6 separate regions of the Homo sapiens genome follow, and regions 1, 3, 4, 5 and 6 are each linked to region 2. The links are contacts of gene promoters, found by promoter capture Hi-C in blood cells and fetal thymus (Javierre and others, 2016). All regions are on one chromosome and are shown on one strand. The core of a region is centred on a gene start or on the middle of the fragment in contact, and the rest is flanking DNA. Distances in the headings are between cores, read along the strand shown. Region 1 holds the start of EXOC5 (exocyst complex component 5). Region 2 holds the start of FBXO33 (F-box protein 33). Region 3 overlaps ARID4A (AT-rich interaction domain 4A). Region 4 holds the start of TIMM9 (translocase of inner mitochondrial membrane 9). Region 5 overlaps LRR1 (leucine rich repeat protein 1). Region 6 overlaps DDHD1-DT (DDHD1 divergent transcript).

Region 1 (4,148 bases), core at 1,067-3,566, about 18 Mb after region 2:
ACCCTCTGGCCTAAGGGTAGTCTAAGGGCTACTGTCTCTATTATCACAGAATCTTACTGGCTACCATGTAACTAGAGTCACTAAATTACATTATATATATGTATGTTATATATACGTTATATATATATATGTGTATGTGTGTGTGTGTATATATATATATATATAAAACGTATATATATACTACTTAACCTAATAGCAGGACCCCAGAAAGCAAAATATATATTTCCCCACCTCCTCCCCTTCCCCGCTAGGGAGAGGGGAAAAAAAAAAATCAAACATATTTCCAAATAAGTTACTGAAATCATGTGGTCAAACATTTAAATAAAAATATACATAAGATGGTCCAAGGTACAACTGGAACTGTCAAGCAGGATTAACTCAAAGGATAATGTCTTATGAACTGTATGACAACATATATAACAGTTTTCAGTTAAGAGCTGGCTTGCCGGCAAATACCTTAATTAAAGATCTCATACAACTTCATCGTTTTCTCCCTTTTTAAGATGTGAAAAATAAAACAAGGAACCACAGCACTACTTAGTACCTAGGGACACAGTAAAAGTTCCTAGCAGGAAAAATGTCTCCCCGTTCTTGTGTCAATAAACAGATGGCACAATTTTGGAATTACAGAAATTAATGTAGCATATCTCCCAACACTTAAGTGAGAAAATACAATATCTCTGAAGTCTTTCTTGTAATTACAATCCTTCATTCACAAATTACTGTCTTATTACAACTTATTATAACAATAACATATATTACTCCTCTCAAAAAAAGCATTATCTATCCAAAAGCTGACTGATATGCAAAATATAGTAACAATAACAAATGTAAATTTCCATTTGTTATTAAAACTGTGGCATTCAAATTGTAAGCCACAAAAACTGCTGAATCTTACGCAGAAAAAGGATACCATTTTCACTTATGGAGAAGTTCCCTATTGTGGATTACAGTCTTCTCAATTATTACACTTTTGTTACTCAATGTGAAACACAAGCACACACACAAAAAAGGGGTCTTTCTTTCCTTTTTCTTATCCGTTTTCATTTCTTTCACACAAGGAGATGCTTTATACGTGTCATTGTTTTGTAGCCTAATTAGAGTTTTCCTATTCTATTATCTCAAACTTTTATCACAGCTTCTTACAACGGACTTCACGAAATTAAATTTTAAGGTTTAGATACTGTAAACGCTCGAGGAAAGACATTAGTATTCTCACTATTACATATTAAGGATTCTCTAGCTTGCAGTTAGGTGATTTTATAATACATGTAAATGCATATAATACACTTAAGGTGCATTATATACATGAAACGAAGTGTTCGTTTTATTTTATAAACTTTTTTTATTTTATAATACACGTAAATGCCTCGAGTGTATTATTATGTATTACATGAAATAAAGTGTTCACTTGAATTTTGCCTCCCTTCAGTCTATCTCTCTTCAGTCGAAAGAGATAAGTAGGCCTTTATTGTCCAAAAAAAAAAAAATTGTCCCAGCCTTTTCAAATGTCAGGTTAAACTGGCAGTCCTATGAATGCCACCTGCAACCTTACTAATGGAATAATTACTCAAAACGAGAAGCCCCCAAGAGTCCCGATCTCAAGTGGCTTCCTCCTATTATTCCCGCGAGGACCCCAGCGACAAGACTCGCCCAACCTGAGGCTCCTGGCTCTCTTTCCTCGTCCTGAGTCAGCCCTTCCCACTACTCATCCGGAGTAGACATCTTCCAACACCCGAACCTTCCAGACTTTCCCTCTTGCCCCCACAAACAAAAGCAACCCTCCTCCCTTGGGACACCCGGCTTCCCCTCTCTGCCGACCGGCCGCCCAGCCCACCTCGGCCCCAAGCACCCCTCCCCCATTTCACGCTCCGCCCGCGCTGACACGGAGCTGCCACCCCAACCCTTCTGTTTCGCACCTCTCTCCCGAGGGCTCCTCCTGGGCAGCCAGCAAACGCCCGCTCCTCGGCCCGCCCACCCAGCTGCCTGCAAACCCCGGGCCTGCCACTCCCTGTAGAGCCGCCGGGGCCCACCTCGAAGAGCTCGGCCGTGGTAGCCATCCCGGCCGGCTGAGAGGCTCGCCCCCCACTGGATGCCGTCTCCGCTTCACATGCTGCGCCTCAGAGGCGCGGCGCACAGGTCTCCGCTCGGCTCGCCAGCTCCGGCTCCGGGCCGCTGCGGGCTCCCCAGCTCCCCACAGATCCCAGGAGGGGCGGGAGAGCGGCCATGAAGCGAAGCCGCAAACGCTTGTCAGCTGCCTCCCGGCGCCGCCCGCGCTGCTCCCATTGTCACCGCCTCATACGCCGGAAGTGGAACTGCGCGCGCCAGGGAGGTTGTCGGGAGGGGCCGGCGAATAAAACGAGCGGCGAAAGAACCGAAAAAAGGCTCGACGCTACCGTGTATGAGGAACTTTGATCCTTGCGGGCCACCATTCCGGAAGTAGAATTTAGAGGAAGAAAATACCGGAGTTGCAGGGTATAGGTAAATTTCTCAAGGTTATAGGTTGGGGTTCTTAGAACTTTTTGTGGTGTGTGTTGGCCTAGAGCGACTCAGAAGCGTTAGTGACTTCACCTAAAAAAGCTAACCTCTCTGCTGAGCGCGACCGGTATGCGGCGCAGGATGAGCCTCAGGGCTTCTGTTAAGAGTCTGTCTGAGAAAGCCGGTCTGCGCTGTTCCTCGGTGGCGACCTTAATTATGAGATGAGCTAATGCTTTACTGACTTAACCATGGCGCAGCGGGCAGTGTGGCTCATAAGCCACGAACCGGGAACTCCACTTTGTGGCACCGTGAGATTCTCCAGGTAAATGCAAATCTGAATCCTCAGGGATGATGGATCAGAAGATCGATGAAGTAGCATAGTTTTGTGGTGCTTCGTGGCCCAGGTTTGCCACGAATAGCTGCGTGACCTTGGGCTAGCCAGTTAACAGACCTCTGTTTCGTCTGTTAAATGGAGATTTTAATAGTCCTACCTTACAGTGTTGTGAGAATTGAGTTGATGACTGGTACATATTATTTACGGTATATGTTTTCTATTAGTATTGTGTTTTAAAATGACCTCCGTCTGCTTAGAATTAAAATGGAGATGACTAAGGGAACGGTAGAAAATTTACTGAGCACTAAACATTTTCAGATTTTTCAACATGCATTGACAAAATCGTTCCAGAACATTTTAACTTATTCTACTGAAAAATCCATGCTAAGTTATATCAGACTTTTATTTTTTTGTTTTTATTTTTTTGAGACGGAGTCTCGCTCTGTTCCCCAGGCTAGAGTGCAGTGGTGCGATCTCCGCTCACTGCAAGCTCCGCCTCCCGGGTTCATGCCGTTCTCCTGCCTCAGCCTCCCGAGTAGCTGGGACTACAGGCACCCGCCACCACGCCCGGCTAATTTTTTGTATTTTTGGTAGAGAGGGGGTTTCACCGTGTTAGCCAGGATAGTCTTGATCTCCTGACCTCGTGATCCGCCCGCCTTGGCTCTCAAAGTGCTGGGATTACAGGCAGGAGCCACCGCGCCCCGCCCAGGCTTTTATTTTTATCTTGTTAATATGTGTCAATGGTAGAAATCATCAGTTTACAGTTCCTAATTGTTGAAGAAAATAGAAACACAAAAAAATGTATTCACTATTTCATATATTGTGTTAAGTTGATCTGGTCCCACTATTAGAATTTGCCCTGTGTAATCAAAATAGCTCTGTTAAGGGAATTGTACAGTAACTCATTGTAAAATGTTGGTGGCAATCGAGTGGGTCTATTTCACCTTTTATTCTCTGGCCATTGATAGTTCTTTTTTGTCACAATTCGTTCTTCCCTGAAGAAAGCTTATAGTGAAGTAGTACCATAGTAGAATTGAGATTGAGGCAGAAAAAAAAGATTTTAATTTTAAATGAAAATTGGTTGGCAATGGGGATATGAAAAATTCCTTCTTTGCAACCTTAACAGTTTTTGTTCCTGAGGGCATCAGAGTTGGAGTTTACCATTTCCCCCCAGGATTTCTGGCTGACACTAACCCCAACATTTGTTGTTGGACCTCAAATACAGGAGATTAATAATATTCTTTAGTACGTGGTTTTACCAGGCGCATCAGTCCGTACAAAGTATCTCTCATTTTACTTATATTCCCTTTGGTTACCTATTTCTAACTGCCGTTCC
Region 2 (3,744 bases), core at 1,116-3,615:
CACTCATTGAATTCACCCTCAACCTTGGTCTCATTAGTAAGTGCTCACTGACTGAAACTTTGCAACTTTTGGGTCAGTTGGTCCTCTAGCCATACATTCAACTCTGAGAAAGTCTCTAACCTAATCTGTTTTTAGCTTCAATGGCCTCTCCTGCCAGATAAAACCAAAGTAAGGAAATAGAATGTCTTGCGAAAAGCTGTGGAAACGCACAGGCAACTGGAATAATGGAGCCATATCCCAGATACAACTTGGAGCTATAACTTATCTCTTGACTTCTAAATTAAGACACAGATTAATGGCGCATACATATATATATATAACCTTATATCTATATATATCTCCTAGCATTAAACCAGGGACTGCTCTCAACCTTGTTCAACATAATGTTCAGTATATTTACTGCAAAAGGACACGCTTTCGGAGAAAAACAATGCCGTACAGCAATGTGCAAATCACTTGATCCTATAAAGGGTCAGTTTCCTTTCTGTAAAACAGGGTTATTTATCATTACCCTGCCTCATAGTGCCACTGAGAGGCTCAAACAACACAGTGAATGTGAAACTGCTGAAGTATTTTTACTATGTAAGGTGCTCCTTTTGTGAACGTCTAAACTTTCTTCTAATAAGAGCTTTACTGTAAGGTTCTTTAGAATATCCATATAAAGAAGATCTAAATTAATAGGGTTTTGGAGGTGGCGATGGAGAAAAATGATGATTGGGAGGGATACTGGGTCAGAATATAAGGCGTTAGTTCTGGAATTACAGTGAAGTCCTGATGCAAAACCAGAACAGTTATGTGCTTACCCTCTGCAGACCCTGGCCAACTCCCTCGCTGCCCGCCCGCCTCCTCCGCCCGACTGTTACTTTTAGGTGAACTACTGGGGAGAAGTTGAGTGTGGTGGTGTATGGGGAGGGACTTTCAACCCTGAAGATCAACTTCTTCCCCAATCCCTTTAACAAACACTCCTCCTCCTCTTCGGGCCTTGTTCAGTTAGCCGAAACTATTTCTGGTAAGAAAATGGCTGTTACAAAATTTCTTTTAGGCAGCGTCCTATGAGTACCTACTCCTTCCCTCACCATGAACTATTTCTAACAGATTCAGAGTCAGAAAATCGTGTTATGTGTATGTTTTGTTTCTTCCAAGGCTCACCCACAGGCCTCACCCTCCCAGTCTTAACGCTCCCATATATAAAATGAAAAGTGACAGCGCCTGTCAGCTCCATCCCACGGCCACCAAGAGGATGAATGAGTGCCTGGAAGGCGCCAGAAGTGGTGTCTGTTAAACACCCCGTCCACCACTGTTTATAAAGTATCGTGATGAGTCCCGTTATGCCTTTCCGCTCAAGGAAACCGCCTAGTTAGAACCAACACTCTCCGTCACTGAGGAAGGCAACACTGAAGTTGGCCGGGCACGTATTATGCACAGAATCTGTGTCGGGGTGCGGGGACGGAGCGACCCCCCGTTACCGGGCGGGGCGGGGCTCAGGGCAAGCCTACCTGTTGTTCCGGATGCTGACCAGCACGCAAAGCACCAGCTCCAAGTAGGTGCGCAGCACTTCCAGCCAACGAGCTGAGAGCTGCAGGGCCTCGACTTCCTCCCCTCCAGTCCCGGTGTCCGCGCCACCTCCGTCCCCTGGGCCACCGCCGCTCAGATAGTTCTCGGCGGCGAATTCAACACGCAGCTCTCGCACGAACCAGCCGCACTTGCGCATGAGGAATTCCAGCCGAGGCTGCTCCGCGGGCGAGACGCGGAGGCAGATGCGGAGCTGGGGCCACAGGGCCGGATAGAAGAGGCACTCACGCCAGTGCGAGCAGGAGGCCGAGGCCCGCAGCCGGTCGGGCGCCGGCAGAAAAGAGAAGATGTGCACGATCAGCTCGCTGGGCAGCGACGCAGCGCCCGCCGCCTGCCCGCACAGAGCCATCCGGCCCCGCCGCCGGCTGCCGGCTCCCGGCCGCCCCCGCAGTACCCGGAGCAGCCCCCGCAGCCGTCGCAGCTGCTGCAGCCGCAGCCGCCGCCACCGCGCCACCCGGGCGGCCCCGGCTCGGGTTCGAGCTCCCGGCGGTCGGGGCTGCGGCACTGACAAGAACAACAACATCAATGACTAGGAAGAAGGGGGCGGAACCGTCGTGGGTCTCGGCGGAACCAAGTAGAACACAAGTTGTGGAGAGGGGGAAAGGCCTCTGCGGGCGTGGCCTGCCGGGAGCCAGCCTCTGTCTTCTCAAACTCTACTCACGTGCGTCCGAGGCCGGCACACTGAGTAACTGCACTGCCCTCGCTCGTAAACTTCAGCGGCCCGGAAGCCTCAAGGCGTACTGTAAGGAAAAGGCAGCCCTCCCTGCGCCGGTCGGCAGAGACAGAGAAGTGGTAGGAGCTGAGTTTGACGTCGCCGCTGGTGGGAGGAGTCCGGCGCGCACCGGCGCGACTTCCGGAAGAGGGGAGCGCCCGATTGCCTGTAGGGACGGGAGGCGCGGCACGTGATCTCTGACGCACGCAGGCCGCGGGGCGGGGCGGGGCTGGGCGGGGCGGGGCGGGGCGGGGCTGGGCGGGACTGGAACCGGCACTTGGCACCCCTTACGCCTTACGGTGGCCGCTGCGCCCAGTCACATCTGTAAGTCGGTTAATTTTGGCGCTCGGTCGATGGAGGTGGCGGTACTCTGGTTTAGTGCGAAAGGTCGTCACGCTTCTTTGTAAAACGTTTCTCAGTTTGGGCTGAGGACCCTGAGCCAAAGTGGCGGCATGCAGGGTCTTTCTCAGCCATCCCACCTGCCCAGAGTAGGGTTAAGAATTCCTGAGATTGCGCCGCTGAGAGGGAGCTGGCGGACGGGCGGGCTAACCCCGGCGGGCTGTGCCGGGAGGGGCGGTGTGGGGCGTGGCGGAGGCCGCGAATGGACCTGCCCCCTCGGTCCAACCACGCAGGTGGACTTCCGCGCACTCGCTGGTGTGTGGGGAAGCAGTGAGGACAGCGTCACCCTTTGGATTCAGAGGGAGAGAAAAAAATTGGCAAAGGGATCTGAGATCCGCAGGTTGTGACCAGCCTCTTCTCCAGGGCTTGAGGAAGGGTCTCTTTTCCCTGTGCTGAGATTTAAGGCTCTCGTTGAAAAGTTCACAGTAATGACAGAGCTTTGATTTTTTTTCTTTCTTCTTCTTCTTTTTTTGCCTGGTATCCCTAACTTAGATTTTCCAAACCATGTCCCTAACTTCACCACAGCCTACTGCAAAGTAAACTCTGGTTGCAAAGAGTGGTGAAGTCAGAAAAGATTAAGTGACTTTATGTAATAATCGAGGGTTGCTTTAGGGAGGCTGCCTCTTTATGTAATAATTGAGAGTTGCTTTAGGGAGGCTGTGATGTTGGAATAGCATCGTTCTTTTGTGGTAAACACCAAGACTTTTTGGACTTTTTTTTTTTTTTTTGGTTTTAAGGAGCGGAGAATTTAATAGGCAAGAAAGAAGGAAGAAGGCTGAAGGAAGAAGCTCCCCACTACAGAGACAGACGGAGGGGGCTCCCAAGACGAAAGAGGAGACCCCCATTCTAGATGTTCTTAACCCTTTGAGGGCAAAGCTCTCCGTTTAATGCCTTGCACATATCAGGTTGCCAACAACATGGTGTGGTTTATCAATTGTGATAGGTTACTTATTCGAGCCCCTGTTTACAAGAGTTTTAGGTAATTATACCTTATTAATTTTAATGAACTCTTAGAGGGCGACCCCAGTCGTGGGTTCGGCAGGATGAAACACTACCCATTT
Region 3 (3,590 bases), core at 330-2,829, about 19 Mb after region 2:
TGGTTGTCTTATAATTTTACAGTTCTTCGATTTAATTTTCTTGAAGGCAATGTGATATAGTGGAAAAGCTCTAAAGTAAGATTTAAGAGACTGGGCTGTCATGCTGGACTCTGCATATTATTTTCTCTTTCTGAACGGCAATTTTCAGTGTGTAAAGTAGGGGTAATAATAGCTACCTAACTTTTGTCAAAGTGTTTTGGAGCTCAAATTGCATAATAAATAGATAAGTACTATGAATGATAAAGATCTCAGACAGTGTAAGATAGAATTATCATAAGTATGGTGTTTATTTTTCTTAGCTAGATTATATAGTTGGTGGGAGTGATTTGGTTTATTTGTTTAAATTTGGTAAGGAAATTGGGATTTCACATTTTAGGTTGGAGCTATTGTTGAAACAAGGACATCTGATGGATCTTTTCAGGAAGCTATTATCAGCAAGTTGACAGATGCTAGTTGGTATACCGTGGGTAAGTAATTAAGTAATTTAACACAGATTTGATTTGGAGGTTGCATGTATCTGTGTTTTGTGGATACACTGAATCATTGTGTTGGTGGAGAAATATATATTATTTCCTGTCAGTTTACTGGATATAGCTGACTAAAATTCTAAGAATGCCCTGTAGGTAACAAAAATAATTATCTCTTACAGTAAGTTGGCCACTTTTGTCTATTTCATCCAAAAATGTACTTCTATTTTAGGTTACTTTGATGTTTCTTTTCAAGAAAGTTAGATCACATGATTGTGATCACTTTTTCTATAATTACAATTAAAATTGCATAGTTGCGATCGTTACTGTATTGCTACATATTTTATACAAGGGTAATGTAGATGTTGCCAGACAATTTACAGATTTAAAAAATCCTGACCATGGTAGATTCAAGAATAGGTGATTGTTAACTTAGTTTTTGATTTTTGATACAGTGTGGGTGCTCATATTAACAGCTTTCAAGGTCGGGCATGTTGGCTCATGCCTGTAATCCTAGCATTTTGGAAAGCTGAGGCGGGTGGATCACTTGAGGTCAGAAGTTCGAGACCAGCCTGGCCAACATGGTGAAACCCCGTCTCTACTGAAAATACACAAATTAGCCTGGTATTAGTGGTGCATGCCTGTAATCCCAGCTACTCTGGAGGCTGAGGCAGGAGAATCGCTTGAACCTGGGAGGCGGAGGTTGCAATGAGCCCAGATCATGCCACTGCACTCCAGCCTGGGCGACAGAGTGAGATTTGGTCTCAAAAAGAAAACAGCTTTTAAGAAAAATATAGATGCTCCTAATATGAATGCATGAATGCATTCTTAACATTCCATGCATAAGCTTATACTGGCTTTAGATAACTTTATTGTATTAATAGTGAGAAGCAACAAGTGTCATAATACTTGTAAGTTAAAACCTTAAAGTAGTACTTAAATAGTTGCTGTCATTATGTTGATGAGAATAGCATTAAGTAACATTTCCAAATCTCCTCTCAGTACTTTCAAACTGCACAATCCTGTGGATAACATCCAATCTATAGCATTGTTGGTTTTTATACTTATTTCTTGGTTTAAGTGGTATAATTATTTTGTGGTTTTCTTGTAGAAATAAAAGAATGACCATTTAGGTTTACTTTTAGTTTACTTGATTTGTTGCTTTGGGTAAAAATCATTCACATCCAGTTGATGCTCAGTGTTGTGAAGAACTATGCTTTGGTTAAAAATTTCTCTGTCTTACCCTGTACCTTCTATTAGTAGTACCAATTTGCTGTGTGTAAGTACTTTTTTCAAACCTCTTTGATGCTTCTTGGACTTACTAGAATTTAGTGTTGGTTCACAGTGGTGCTATTATTCTGAACTACATATTTTTAGGAAGCTTAGTTGTGGCTACTGATAGTTGTTAAATTTTAAAAACTAAGTGGCCAGATGCAGTGGCTCTAACCTGTAATCCCAGCACTTTAGGGGGGCGAGGTGGGCGGATCACCTGAGGTCAAGAGTTCAAGACCAGCCTGGCCAACATGGCGAAACCTTGTCTCTACTAAAAATACAAAAATTAGCTGGGTGTGGTGGTGGGCGTCTGTAATCCCAGCTACTCAGTAGGCTGAGGCAGGAGAATCGCTTGAATCTGGGAGGCGGAGGTTGCAGTAAGCCTAGATTGTGCCATTGCACTCCAGCCTGGGCAACAAGAGCAAAACTGCGTCTCAAAACAAATAAAAACTAAGCTTAATGTTAACTCTTAGAGATTAAGTAAATACATCTTTGCTTTATCAAACTAAGACCTGATAAAAATTACAGGTGTGTGTAGAATCACCGGAAAATATATGATGCATATTCAGATATTTATATTGCACCTTATATTTTAACTCACTATAAAGGTTGTACTCACTTTGAAGCTTTACTGATAAAATGCGCATGCTCTATAGAAGGATTACTTTTCAGGTTTTCTCATTTTGGGTTTCTTTATCCCAGAGTAGTTATTCAATTATGAATAGCAACCTTTGTCCTCTACATGAGTAGCGTTTTAGTGTTTCTAAAAACTAGTCACTGCTAAGCATTCTCTATGGTGATTTTCTGTGTTGGATAATTACAGAAGAAATTGTATAATTCTTGTTCTCAAAGAGCTTTAGAATCTTAATTGCATATAATTGAGGTATCAAGCATTAGTGGACATAAGAATCACTTGGTGCTTGCTTAGAAAAATGAGGATTTGAGGACCCCAAGCCTCTCCAATTAGTAGGCCTGGGGATGGCAGTACAAGAATGTTTTAATAAGCATGTCAGTGATTCTGATGCAGGTAGTTCACACTTATAAAAACAGGGAAAAACAGATTTATTTGGGAGAAAAATTCAAAATATTAAAGATTTTTGCACTTACGTGCATGAAGGAAATTCATAAAAAGATTTTGAAAGGCACTGTTCCATTCAGAAAACTCAAGATAGCACTGCTCTAAAGAACGTTTAGATATTGAAGGAAGTGGATCACATAAAGAATGATCAGAGTATAATGACCTGAGTTACCAGTTGGTTTAAAAAAAACAGTACAATGAAATGTAAAACCTCTTGGGTCATGAACATCCTGTATTTTTCTTTCAGTGAGTACCTACTACCTACCTATTAGGTGTAATTGCTCTTTTCTGGAATTTTTTTTGATTTCTAGTTCCTAGCAAAGTATTACATGGGTATAGTCAGAAAATTATTCAGAGTGTTTATGACGTGTGTTACCTTTTTTGGTTTCATGAGATACCAGAAATTATGTCAGATTATTAAAAATAAAACAAGAGGATACCACATTGCTGGTTTGGATCAAATAGGAGTTATGATCATTAGTGATCTAAAGTTATCATTAGAGTCAGTGATATTAACTTCTTCTTGCATAATACAGGTATCAATTTCCCTTCTGTTAAACATGATTAACCAATTTTGAAAGAGATTATGGATATAGTATGACTCAGTTTTTAAAAAATCTGGTAATATCTTACCCTCTAATGGTTTATTTCTTGTTTGTTTGTTCGTTTTAGAGACAGGATCTTGCTCTGTTGCCCAGGCTTTTGTTCAGTAGCACTATTGTAGCTTCCTGCAGCCCTGAATTCCTGGGCTCAAGCAGTCTTACCGCCTTAGC
Region 4 (4,030 bases), core at 446-2,945, about 19 Mb after region 2:
TGGCCACGTGCGGTGGCTCACGCTTGTAATACTAGCACTTTGGTAGGCCGAGGCGGGTGAATCAAGTCAGGAGTTCGAGACCAACCTGGCCAACATGGTGAAACCCCGTCTCTAATAAAAATACAAAAAAAATTAGCTGGGCGTGGTGGCGGGCGCCTGTAATCCAGCTACTCAGGAGGCCTGAGGCAGAAGAATCGCTTGAACCTGGGAGGCGGAGGTTGCAGTGAGCCAAGATCGCGCCACTGCACTCCAGCCTGTGCCACAGAGTGAGACTTTGTCTCAAAAAACAACACAAAACTCATTAGAGAAACTCAGCAAGTTACAAAAAAATAATAATTAAAAGGGTCTTTAACGCTGAGCCCTTAAAGTCTTTTTTTTTCTTTTTTTTTTAAGACAGTCTTGATCTGTCACTCAGGCTGGAGCACAATGGCGCGATCTCAGCTCACTGCAACCTCCACCTGCCGGGTTCAAGCAATTCTCTTGCCTCAGCCTCCTGAGTAGCTGGGACTACAGGCGCGCGCCACCATGCCCAGTTAATTTTTTGTATTTTCAGTAGAGGCGGGGTTTCACCTTGCTGGCCAGGCTGGTCTCGAACTCCTGATCTCGTGATCCGCCCGCCTTGGCCTCCCAAAGTGCTGGGATTACAGGCGTGAGCCACCGCGCTCAGACTTTAAAGTCCATTTTAAGTCTAGACTTCTATGAAGGTAGACTGCCGAGATGTAAAAGAAATAAAATTAGTTATTTAGCTTTTAGATCGGATTACATTTTCTGCTTTGATTATTCTAAAGCCTCCAGTAAGGCGTAAAGGGAAAGCTCTAAGTAGCGCATCCTGGGAAATGAGCAGATCAGGGAAGGGGTGTTAGACCTGGTATTATGTCTAAAGACGATTTTCATTTAAAGGAGGATCTTCCCCCGGGCAGCTCAAGGTCACATCGTAAATACCTTATAGTCTAATTCAGTGTCCCAAAACAGGACCCCGACTCCCCAGATCCGGGTTGGGGGTGGCTCAGGGCCTAAAGTTCCTACCCTCGCCCAGGTGACACCATCTCCAGGAAGGTCTGCACCCGACCCGGCGAAGCGCTGTCCCGCTTCGCACCCCCCACTGCTCCAGGTACGTGCGGCGGCCTCCTCGGGAGACCCCGCCACTTTCCTGGAGCGTAGCCTGCCACCCCCCGTCCGGGAACCCCGGATTCTCACGGCAGAGAACAGACACCATACTTAAGCACAGGCTCTCGCATCCGACATCAGTACAAGGCTGGGGGTTGTTGGGGGACGGTTGAGCCTTGGGAGGGAGGGTCAGGGTCTGGACAGGAGCCGCGGCCGCCAGATGGGAAAGAACACGTGGGAGCAGTAATGTCAAGTGACACTTAAACCCTTAGACGCCGATTCGTTATAACGCGAGGAAATCTAGAAGAAAAAGCAGGTACCATCAGCGAATTCTAAAATCTCCTAAGGATTAACTTCGGTTATTTTCTGCTTAGACAACGCTTTCTATTCCCGACTTCCTCTCCAATAATGACCCGAATCTGTCGAAACTTCTTGGAAGCCTAATTTACCTAATCCCACGTCCCTAACGGTCTTCGGAAGCGAAGCAGTGTCAACAGTCCCTGGTAAACACAAGTAGTATTACAAGTCGGGAGCTCTTCAAGTCTTGGATGAGACTGTAGAGCGGTCTTGTGCGGCAATGTGCTACCTTAAAATAAATAAATAAATAAACCCCTGTTATGTCCGGAGTTTGTTTCCACCCGGAGAGGAATGGAAGAGCACCAGAGAGCGCTTAGCTTTCTGGTTGGATGTTTTGGGTGAGTTTCTTGGCGCGCATGCGTGTTGTGTCTCAAGGGCGGGTTTGAAGGGAAGTGGGTGTTGACCTGCGGGCAACTGACGCTGTTGTCAGATTACACCCACGACGGTGCGGGTCTCGGGCGTTCTGGAGATACGTAGGGGTGAATTTATGTTTCCGACGATTGCATCTGGAGGGGTGTGTAAGACTCTGTGGCTGAAGAAAGCTATTACGCTTCTTATGTGGGTCATTATTTTAAAAATAGCATTTCGCTTTTATTTGCTTGACTGCCTCTTCTCAACAAATTTTAAGCCCGCCACTACATGTGTTTGGTTTTGCCCTACCAGCTCTGGGGTTGGGGAGTGCACTGTTATGGTTATTGTTGCTCCTGTGGCCATTCTCTTGTCATCCCCACTTTCACATTTTGGCGTGGTGTATTAATAGACTGAGTGGGATTAATGGGTAAATATGACTTTATAGTCAGCTCTAATCCTGGATTCAATATCAGAATTTAGATTTTCAGCTTTGTGGATGTTCGACATTTTAAAAACAGTTATTGCAAAGAGGTGAAAATTTTGTTCTGAAGTCTTAAGGAAACAGAGAAAGTTTTTCCGTCCTTAAGTGTGGGACTTGTTTTGTGACCAACAATATGAAAGGCTCTGAGGTCAGCTTGGAGAAGAAAAAAAAGATTAAGATGCCAGTGAAGAGACTTCGTGAGGTAGTTTCTCAAAATCATGGAGATCATTTGGTTTTGCTGAAAGATGAGTTGCCCTGTGTTCCTCCGGCATTGTCTGCAAATAAACGTCTTCCTGTTGGAACGGGGACTAGTTTGAATGGAACATCACGTGGTATGTGATTCCATGTAGTTTTTCAACCAGTTTTAGTTTAGTAAATCTTTAGTCCTTATTTGTTTAAATTCCCAAACGTAAGATATAAGTCTAGTTTGTACAGATGTTTGAAAACTGACCCTGTTTCCCGGGAAAATGGCCAGGAAGCCTATAAAATGTTTGAATAGATGGAATGAATGAAACTTTAACGTCCCCTGTTGTGCTTTTTTTTTTTTTTTTTGCATTGACTTTTGCATATTTTTTTTTTTATATTTATGGTGGATACACTTAACTTGTATAATGTGCTTTATTTTCCCCCACGTAGTGTTTTTTATAGTTTTCCCCCAAAGTAGTGCTTTTTACCTAATTCACTACTTTCTTTTCATAGTGGGAAAAGCAGGACTTCTGCCAATTGATGGCTTCTATATTCCAATTCACTTAATCTGTCTAGAGCTCAGTGAAAATAAGGATAACATATGCTTTACCCACTTCGCTGCTAATTGTGAGGATTAAATTAATGAATATGTGAGCAAAAACAGCAAAACGCTTTTGTAATGCTGTTCTTTGGGGGATACAGCGGTGACACTCAAATAGTACTGCTGTTAAATTAGACCTTTACATCGTATACATATTTCTACCCATAGTTTGTCCACATCCAATAGTGTATGGTTATATTTTAAAATGTTTCGTGCTTAATCTCACTTTATTGTCAGTACCGAACCTTATTTTCCCAAATATCAACTGTAAAAACTTTCATTCAGATATGTTTAAATACATTTTCTTAACTTTTTTTGCATGCAAATTGTCTTTCCAACTTCTGCGTTATATGGAGTTTATAGATCTTGAATCATGCATATACAGTTTCTAAAGCTAAGGATCTGATTTTAAAATCACTAAAATCTATTCCTTTGTTTTGTTAGGTTCATCAGACTTAACTTCTGCTAGAAATTGTTACCAGCCTCTATTAGAAAATCCCATGGTGTCAGAAAGTGTAAGCAAAAGGATTCTTAATTATGCTCACGTTAAAATTTTCAGTATTGTCAAATAATGCATTCTTAAATTATGTTTGATTAGCAGCATGCCTTGTTTTTATTTAAATATCACTTACCAAAACAAATGTTTTATATACTACAATTGTGACTTTGAATGGTGTTTGAGACATTAAACAAAAGGCCTTCCCTAGAATCAAAAATACCTATTAGTAAGATAATGGCCGCTGAAAGAGATAGGATAACTGAAAAGAAACTCTCTTACTATTCAGGGAAAAGGTGTTCTTGCCCAGAGACTTAACATGTTCTTAGGTAAAAGAAAAGGAACAACTAACAGTACAATTTTTCTTTAATGTGAGGTGTGCTTGCATGTCATTCTAACACTTGTGAGAATGGTTTTGGTTTTCTTAGAAGGGAGGTTCTTTAAGAATAAC
Region 5 (3,940 bases), core at 1,213-3,712, about 10 Mb after region 2:
AAAACAAGCTGAGATCTTACTGATTTTAAAAAAAGAAAACAAATTTCTAGAAAGACAAGGCTGAATTCATTGTCTCCACTTTTTATCTTTTGACCTTTACTGGTTTACTGAAAACACTGTCTCAGAGATCACTGATCTTTTCACTTGTCTATCACAGTATCATTATTTCTCATTATTTTTGCACTCTGTAGAATTTGACAATGATAATTACCCTTTTCTTAATAAAACTCTTTCTTTTCTTGGTATCTATGATAGGGCACTATGGTTTACCTTCAGTTTTCTTAGTCACTTCTTTGTCTCTTGCTTCCAGCAACATTTTTTTCTATCCCCAAAATAAAGGCTTTATTTCAGTCCTCTGCTGTTTTCTGTCATACCTGCCTTCCATTTGATAGTTCAGCTGTTATATGGGTGAATCCCAAGTCTGTGAACCAGTATGCTTTATTGTACCTAGTTGACCCAGGTCTTCTCCAGACTTTTCCCTACTCTGGTTCATTGTGTACAGTGCTACCAAAATAGTATTTAGTTCTTGTCATGTAACTTTCATACTTAAAATCCCTCCACTTTACGTTGGCATCTGAGCTCATTTACAATCTGTCCTCATACTGTATTTCCAATCTTTTGCTCTACATAGCTTCCATGTTCCAACAAAAATTAGCTTTTTTTTTTTTCTTTTTTTTTTTTTTATATGGAGTCGCTCTGTCGCCCAGGCTGCCGTGCAGTCTTGCGATCTTGGCTTACTGCAACCTCTGCCTCCCAGTTTCAAGCAACTCTCCTGCCTCAGCCTACCAAGCAGCTGGGATTACAGGCGCCTGCCGCCATGCCCCACTAATTTTTATATTTTTAGTAGAGACGGGGTTTCACCATGTTGGCCAAGCTGGCCTTGAACTCCTAACCTCAGGTGATCCACCCACCTTGGCCTCCCAAAGTGCTAGGATTATAGGCGTGAGCCACCAGTCCCAGCCTTTTTTGTTTGTTTGTTTTGTTTTGTTTTGAGACCGAGTTTCACTTGTGTCGCCCAGGCTGGAGTGCAGTGGCGCGATCTCGGCTCACTGCAACCTCTGCCTCCCAGGTTCAAGCAATTCTCCTGCCTCAGCTTCCTGACTAGCTGGGATTACAGGCATGCGCCACATTGCCCAGCTAATTTTTGTATTATTAGTAGAGAAGGGGTTTCACCATGTTGGCCAGGCTGGTCTGAAACTCCTGACCTCAAGTAATCCGCCTGCCTTGGCCTCCCAATGTTATGGGATTATAGGCGTGAGTCACTACACCTGGCCTTAAACTCAAATTTTTTTTTTTTTTTTTTAATTTTTCAGATAGAGTCTTGCTCTGTTGCCCAGCCTGGAGTGCAGTGGCACAATCTCGGCTCACTGCAACCTCCGCCTCCCGGGTTCAAGCGATTCTCCTTGCTCAGCCTCCAAAGTAGCTGGGATTACAGGCATGCACTACCACGCCCAGCTAATTTTTGTATTTTTAGTAGAAACAGGGCTTCACCATGTTGGCCAGGCTGGTCTCAAACTCCTGACCTCAAGTGATCCACCTGCCTCGGCCTCCCAAAGTGCTGGGATTACAGGCGTGAGCCACTGCGCCCCACCTAAACTCAAATCTTAAGTGGAATAGTCAATCATTTCCTATCTTATTTTATACTCTTATGATTTCCCTTTATTTTTGTTATTTTTTTTTTTTTTTGAGACAGTCTCACTCTGTTGCCCAGGCTGGAGGGCAGTGATATCATGGCTTACTGCAGCCTCTACTTCCTAGGCTCAGGTGATCCTCCCACCTCAGCCTCCCAAAGTGTTGGCATGACTTCCCTTTGAACAGTTTTATTTAGAATGTGTCCCTCCACGTAATTTTTTTCAAAAACTTTTAAACTTGAAATTTAGTCAAAATAAAGTACTAAAAAAAAGTTTTACAGTCAATTTCAGTAAATCATTGTATCACATTCATAAGTAATGCCATAGAATTTGTTATGGGAAGAACTAGCATGTATGTATTATCTCCAGTGGAATTTATAATTCTACAACTTTTATTTATTCAGGCCATTTCCAGCAGTTTAAAAGGTTTCCTTTCAGCTATGAGACTGGCTCATAGAGGCTGTAATGTTGATACACCAGTTTCAACGCTCACACCAGTGAAGACTTCAGAATTTGAAAACTTTAAAACTAAAATGGTTATCACATCCAAAAAAGACTATCCTCTAAGTAAGAATTTTCCATATTCCTTGGAACATCTTCAGACTTCTTACTGTGGGCTTGTCCGAGTTGATATGCGTATGCTTTGCTTAAAAAGCCTTAGGAAATTAGACTTGAGTCACAACCATATAAAAAAGCTTCCAGCTACAATTGGAGACCTCATACACCTTCAAGAACTTAACCTGAATGACAATCACTTGGAGTCATTTAGTGTAGCCTTGTGTCATTCTACACTCCAGAAGTCACTTCGGAGTTTGGACCTCAGCAAGAACAAAATCAAGGCACTCCCTGTGCAGTTTTGCCAGCTCCAGGAACTTAAGAATTTAAAACTTGACGATAATGAATTGATTCAATTTCCTTGCAAGATAGGACAACTAATAAACCTTCGCTTTTTGTCAGCAGCTCGAAATAAGCTTCCATTTTTGCCTAGTGAATTTAGAAATTTATCCCTTGAATACTTGGATCTTTTTGGAAATACTTTTGAACAACCAAAAGTCCTTCCAGTAATAAAGCTGCAAGCACCATTAACTTTATTGGAATCTTCTGCACGAACCATATTACATAATAGGTAAGATTTTAATAGTCATGTAATGTGGTGTCTTTGATAGCATTCTAATATTCCTATCAAACTCAGAGTAATAAAGTCTAACATTGCTTACAGTGCTATGCACAGTCTGACCCTTTGCTATAATGGTCTTCTTGTTCCTTACCTCTGCTTAGAATGATTTTTCTCCAGGAAGTCTCATTGCTCACTCCCTCACTTCATTCAGTTTTCTGCCGAAGTGTCATCCCAGAAAGGTCTTACCTGTCCATTCTATCTAAATTTTATTCCTTCCCTCCTTACATTGCTTGATTTTTTTTTTTTTTTTTTTTTTTTTTTTTTTTTTTTTTTTTGGTCATAGGACTCATTGCCTGTTATATATATTTTTAAACTTTTTTTTTTGTTTACTGTCAGTTTTCCCCACTAGAATGTAAGATCCATCAGCACATGGATGTTGTTTTATTCTCCACTATTTCCCTAGGATCTAAACCATGTATACCCTGCTCCTAGCATATATTAAGCACTCAATAAGTAGTTAAATGAATGAATGGCATTGTTTCTCAAAGTGTGCTCCCCTGACCAGCAGGATCTGCATTACCTAGGAACTTCCTAGAGATGCAGGTTCTAACATTCCAGACCTACTGAATCAGAAACTGAGAGTGGGGTCCAGCTGTGTCTTAGTGAGTCTTCCAAGTGATTTTGATGTACTCTAAAATTAGAGAGTTCGCATAGTGATGAAGGGTGGTCTTTGGAGTCAGACTTGGATTTGATTCCTGGCTTCACCACTTTGTATGACTTTAACCTCTTTTTTTTTTTTTTTTTTTTTTTTTTTGAGATGGAGTCTCACTCTGTCGCCCAGGCTGGAGTGCAGTGGTGCGAAGCGATCTCGGCTCACTGCAAGCTCCGCCTTCCAGGTTCACGCCATTCTCGTGCCTCAGCCTACTGAGTAGCTGGGACTACAGGCGCCCGCCAACACGCCTGGCTAATTTTTTTTTTGTATTTTTAGTAGAGACGGGGTTTCACCGTGTTAGCCAGGATGGTCTCGATCTCCTGACCTCGTGATCCGCCCGTCTTGGCCTCCCAAAGTGCTGGAATTACAGGCTTGAGCCACCACACCTGGCCCTTTTTTTTTTTTTTTTTTTTTTTTTTGAGACAGGGTCTCACTCTGTTGCCCAGGCTCGAGTGCAGTGGTCCAATCTCAGCTCACTGC
Region 6 (4,161 bases), core at 543-3,042, about 14 Mb after region 2:
TAATCCCCGCATTTTGGGAGGCCAAGGCGGGCAGATCACGAGGTCAGGAGATCGAGACCATCCTGGCTAACATGGTGAAATCCTGTCTCTACTAAAAAAAAATACAAAAAATTAGCTGGACGTGGTGGCGGGCACCTGTAGTCCCAGCCACTCGGGAGGCTGAGGCAGGAGAATGGCGTGAACCCGGGAGGCGGAGCTTGTAGTGAGCCGAGATCACGCCACTGCACTCCAGCCTGGGCTACAGAGCGAGACTCCGTCTTGGAAAAAAAAAAAAAGTACTTTCTGCTTTGCATTGAATGAATGTTTCTATTACTTTTAAGTGTGCTTATTTGGTTATTTTGAGAAGATTATCCTCTTGTGGTTCACTGGGGAAATGCCACACTCCTTTTAGGTAGAGTGATCATTTTTGAAGGAAATGTTGATTCTCAACACAACCCAGGTGGCAGAAGAAGGGAATCCTAGATTCTCTGCTGACCTGGTTATCTTGGTCTAGAGCCAGGTGTGTGTAATCTTTTGGCTTTCCTGGGCCACATCGGAAGAAGAAGAATTGTCTTGGGTCACACATAAAATACACTAACACTGATGATAGCTGATGAGCTTAAAAAATCACGAAAAAATCTCGTACTGTTTTAAGAAAGTTTATGAATTTGTGTTGGGCCACATTCAAAGCCATCCTGGGCTGCATATGGCCCATGGGCTGCAGGTTGGGCAAGCTTGGTCTAGACCTTGTTGAGGGGAGATGTCAATCAACATTTGTGGGCTGAGATTGCTTCTGCCCCTTGGAAGTGAGCTTGGGCTATGGCAGACCCATATACTGGGTCCCAGGCTGACAGTGCTCAGAAGATATTTGAGAGCACAATATCTAACTTCATGTGACTGCATGTGTTTATTTCCTTTTTACTCCCTAGCCATCATAGCAAGGCAAAGGTCATGATGTTGTTTTTCTCAACTTTTCTGCTTTAAAAAGTCATGTTTTATCTAATGCCTCCTGTTCCTGCTCTCCTTTTGTTTTCTAGATCATCTTCTCAGGTAATATGATCCTGACCAGAGGGAGATGGGTTGGGGCATCTATTCTAGTCCCCACCTGCCAGAATAGGTGTCAGGTGGCTCCTCACCACTCTACATCATTAGTGTGTACAATGGACACAGCATTATCTGAACTTCCATGGCTCTATGTAAAGCATTCCATTGTATTTTAATAATTACGCAAGACAAGGCCTCTTTCACATAAGGCAAATAAGTGTGATTGATTCAGACTTCTGGCATTACTGGGCCATGCTGCCGCAAGAAACAGGTGCATGTGGAATCAAGCCTGACGGAGTTATTGGTGTGCAGAAAAAAAAAAAGGTAAGCCAGTTGGTTTGTACTACAAAAGACTAAAACAGCTCGTCTGTGTATCCTACCACCTTCCTGTCCCCATTAGGCATATGGCAAGAGCTATCTGGTAACAACGGCCATCTCCTCCCGCGTCTCAAAGATGTTTTCGTGCAATTGTGTGCTGTCTTTCCCTTTTCTTCTTTTCTTAAAGTTTGTCCCTGTTATTCATTTTATTATTTTAGAGATAGGGTCTTGCTGTTGCCCGGGTGAAGTATAGTAGGCCAATCCTAGCTCACTGCAGCCTTGAACTCCTGGCCTCAAGTAATCCTCCTGCTGCAGCCTCCCCAGTAGCTAGTATTACAGGCACAAGCCACCATGTTGTTCATTTTAACCTGTCTTCACGTTTGTAACATTAGGGAATGCTTGATGCCAAGTAATTTATCCTGAGCCAACATCCCACACCTGCACTTGAAATAGCTTCATCCAAAGTGTATGATGGAAGACCCCTATTTAGAATGAAAGAAAGAGGGCAGACATAACCATGCCCCCATCTGCTGTATCTCGTGTTCGATAAGCCATCCACCACAACTTAAATTTTATTTCACTTTTTATTTTTAGGATTACTACTTATCTGGTTTTTAAAGATGAGAGTGTTTTATCTGATGCCCTGACCAAATGAAACAACAACCTAGACTGAAGCAGGGAACATTCGCTGGACATTTCAGGCACTGTGCTAGGCTCTACAGTGAAGCATTCACAGTCTAGTGGTGTCTATAAATAAAACCAAAATGCTAACTTTTAAATTCCTATGAGGAATATAATTGTAATGCCACTATAGCTGCATCACTACCATGGGGTCATTCTCTCCCTACAGACAGATCAATAAACAAAATCAAATTACAATCCAAAGGAAGCAAGGTGGGCAGAAATAACGTAGGGATTCATGATGAATAAAGTCATTAATCCTTCCATTTATTCATTCAACAAATATTTATTGTCTAGTGCTATTGTGTTTTTATTTTTAACTGAAATTACACTTAAAATTTAGAATTATGAAATGCATTTATTTAAAGATTTATAAGAGGCCTATCCACAAAACCATACTTACCAAAACCCTATAAAAATGTTTTCTATTCCTTTTGGAAATAAAGGTCAGTGGTGGTGAAGGTATATATTCAAATGAAAGAAAGTATAAATCAATACAACATTGATGCATACTCTGTGGAGGCAGCCACAAAATCCTCATCAGCTTGTTTATATCAGACAGATTTGGCCATCTTCCTGCCCTTTCATTATAGAAAAGTGAGTTGGGCCATAGCTATTGGCTGCTGTGAGGCCCACATTATGCACCCATTGTAGATGTATTTAATGACTTCTGCGCTCTAGGATTTTTTCCTACCTCCACAGGTAAGTTGAAAGTACATATTTGTTCACAGACTCATATGAGCCTTCAATAAAAAGTAATTGATAATCATAATATGGTGCTGAGCAAGACTTAGAGGCAGCACCTTGCGTATGTGTATTGTCATATATAAGTTAAAAAGGAAAGAAAAGAGAAGCTTTGTTCCAATAAGGATTTATTTCCACTAATGTAACTGTCAGTAATTTGCTGAGCATTTAAAAGACTGAACAGCAGAATTGATTTACTGTTTTTGCAACTGCTGCTTAAAAAAGTATGTTTATCCTTACATCATAAGTCAGCAACTCATTTAAAGTTTCAGCTTGAATAAAATATGATTCTAGGCCGGGTACGGTGGCTCACGCCTGTAATCCCAGCACTTTGGGAGGCCAAGGCGGGTGGATCACAAGGTCAGGAGTTCGAGACCAGCCTGCCCAACATGGTGAAACCCCATCTCTACTAAAAATACAAAATTAACTGGTCGCGGTGGTGCGTGCTTGTAATCCCAGCTGCTCGGGAGACTGAGGCAGGAGAATCACATGAACCCAGGAGGCAGAGGTTGCAGTGAGCCGAGATCATGCTACTGCACTCCAGCCTGGGCAACAAGAGCGAAACTCCATCTCAAAAAAAAAAAAAATATATATATATATATAATAATCATACATATAATAATCATTATATATACATATATATGATTCTAGACTCACAAGCTCCCAAATTCTTTTTGTGGGTCTCCCATTGGGTTACTTGAACCATACTAGATAGCCATTAGGATAATACCATTAATAAATGTAAATGGCATGGTAGAAAAGCAAAATTCTTCAGAAATTTTATCTTCAAGATTCAGCAACATATATTTTAAATATGAGAAATTAGTAACAATGGCCCTGCATTTGTGACTCCTTCACTTCTAAAGTTTAGAACATCAGATTCATACTAATTCTTAATCATCTGTAAGAACTCACAAATAGTCCTTCATTTGATTATTCATATTACTCTGCTTCTGAGGTTAACAATTATAAACTTTGATCACTCATATGACTGTACTTCTCAGGTTAGAAATTATAAACCTCTGGGCCAGGTGGATCATGCCTGTAATCCCAGCACTTTGGGAGGCTGAGGCAGGAGGATCACTGGAGCCTAGAAGTTCGTGACCAGCCTGGGCAACATGACAAAACCTTGTCTCTACCGAAAACAAAACAAAAAACAAAAACAAAAATTTCCCAGGCGTGGTGGTGTGCCTATAGTCCCAGGTGCTCAGGAGGCTGAGGTGGGAGGATTGCTTGAACCCGGGAGGCAAAGGTTGCAGTGAGCCGAGATCATGCCACAGCCTGGGTGAGACTGATATCTCATCTCAAAAAAAAAAAAAAAAAAAAAAAGAAGGAGAGAGAGAGAGACAGGTATTAATTATAAACCTTTAGAAGATATAGAGGAACAGTGTATTC

The links. Contacts are between HindIII fragments. The CHiCAGO score rates a contact against its expected background, and 5 or more counts as called.
Region 1: the fragment with the promoter of EXOC5 here is called in contact with the fragment with the promoter of FBXO33 in region 2 in 2 of 17 cell types (non-activated CD4 T cells and total B cells); the score reaches 10.6 in non-activated CD4 T cells.
Region 3: a fragment that was not itself captured here is called in contact with the fragment with the promoter of FBXO33 in region 2 in 1 of 17 cell types (total B cells); the score reaches 5.5 in total B cells.
Region 4: the fragment with the promoter of TIMM9 here is called in contact with the fragment with the promoter of FBXO33 in region 2 in 1 of 17 cell types (non-activated CD4 T cells); the score reaches 5.4 in non-activated CD4 T cells.
Region 5: a fragment that was not itself captured here is called in contact with the fragment with the promoter of FBXO33 in region 2 in 1 of 17 cell types (non-activated CD4 T cells); the score reaches 5.6 in non-activated CD4 T cells.
Region 6: a fragment that was not itself captured here is called in contact with the fragment with the promoter of FBXO33 in region 2 in 1 of 17 cell types (non-activated CD4 T cells); the score reaches 5.8 in non-activated CD4 T cells.

The regions. Positions count from the first base shown.
Region 1 is chr14:57,266,589-57,270,736 of GRCh38, forward strand. EXOC5 (exocyst complex component 5) reads right to left here and starts at 2,317. Exons shown (of 18, transcript NM_006544.4): 1 at 2,034-2,317. The coding sequence starts at 2,060. It overlaps AP5M1 (adaptor related protein complex 5 subunit mu 1), which reads left to right and starts at 2,383. Exons shown (of 8, transcript NM_018229.4): 1 at 2,383-2,800. The coding sequence starts at 2,727. RefSeq lists a silencer at 1,748-1,807 and enhancers at 2,117-2,700, 2,348-2,547. The HindIII fragment of the contact is 4,317 bases long and covers 1-3,815 here.
Region 2 is chr14:39,430,068-39,433,811 of GRCh38, forward strand. FBXO33 (F-box protein 33) reads right to left here and starts at 2,366. Exons shown (of 4, transcript NM_203301.4): 1 at 1,497-2,366. The coding sequence starts at 2,095. LOC105370461 (a long non-coding RNA gene) reads left to right here and starts at 2,372. Exons shown (of 8, transcript XR_007064121.1): 1 at 2,372-2,452. RefSeq lists silencers at 1,355-1,484, 1,925-2,054, 2,795-2,964 and an enhancer at 2,155-2,404. The HindIII fragment of the contact is 7,836 bases long and covers 1-3,744 here.
Region 3 is chr14:58,305,646-58,309,235 of GRCh38, forward strand. ARID4A (AT-rich interaction domain 4A) reads left to right here. Exons shown (of 24, transcript NM_002892.4): 5 at 377-467. Among named protein-coding and RNA genes, the nearest start is that of ARID4A, 8.9 kb to the left of the region's middle. The HindIII fragment of the contact is 534 bases long and covers 1,313-1,846 here.
Region 4 is chr14:58,425,836-58,429,865 of GRCh38, forward strand. TIMM9 (translocase of inner mitochondrial membrane 9) reads right to left here and starts at 1,696. Exons shown (of 6, transcript NM_012460.4): 1 at 1,557-1,696; 2 at 1,219-1,407. KIAA0586 reads left to right here and starts at 1,884. Exons shown (of 31, transcript NM_001329943.3): 1 at 1,884-2,628; 2 at 3,528-3,598. The coding sequence starts at 2,430. RefSeq lists enhancers at 1-831, 1,846-1,895, 1,966-2,155. The HindIII fragment of the contact is 11,466 bases long and covers 1-4,030 here.
Region 5 is chr14:49,605,365-49,609,304 of GRCh38, forward strand. LRR1 (leucine rich repeat protein 1) reads left to right here. Exons shown (of 4, transcript NM_152329.4): 3 at 2,036-2,757. Among named protein-coding and RNA genes, the nearest start is that of LRR1, 8.4 kb to the left of the region's middle. The HindIII fragment of the contact is 276 bases long and covers 2,325-2,600 here.
Region 6 is chr14:53,155,227-53,159,387 of GRCh38, forward strand. DDHD1-DT (DDHD1 divergent transcript) reads left to right here. Exons shown (of 3, transcript NR_110062.1): 2 at 1,017-1,347; 3 at 1,936-2,302. Among named protein-coding and RNA genes, the nearest start is that of DDHD1-DT, 4.0 kb to the left of the region's middle. The HindIII fragment of the contact is 2,163 bases long and covers 712-2,874 here.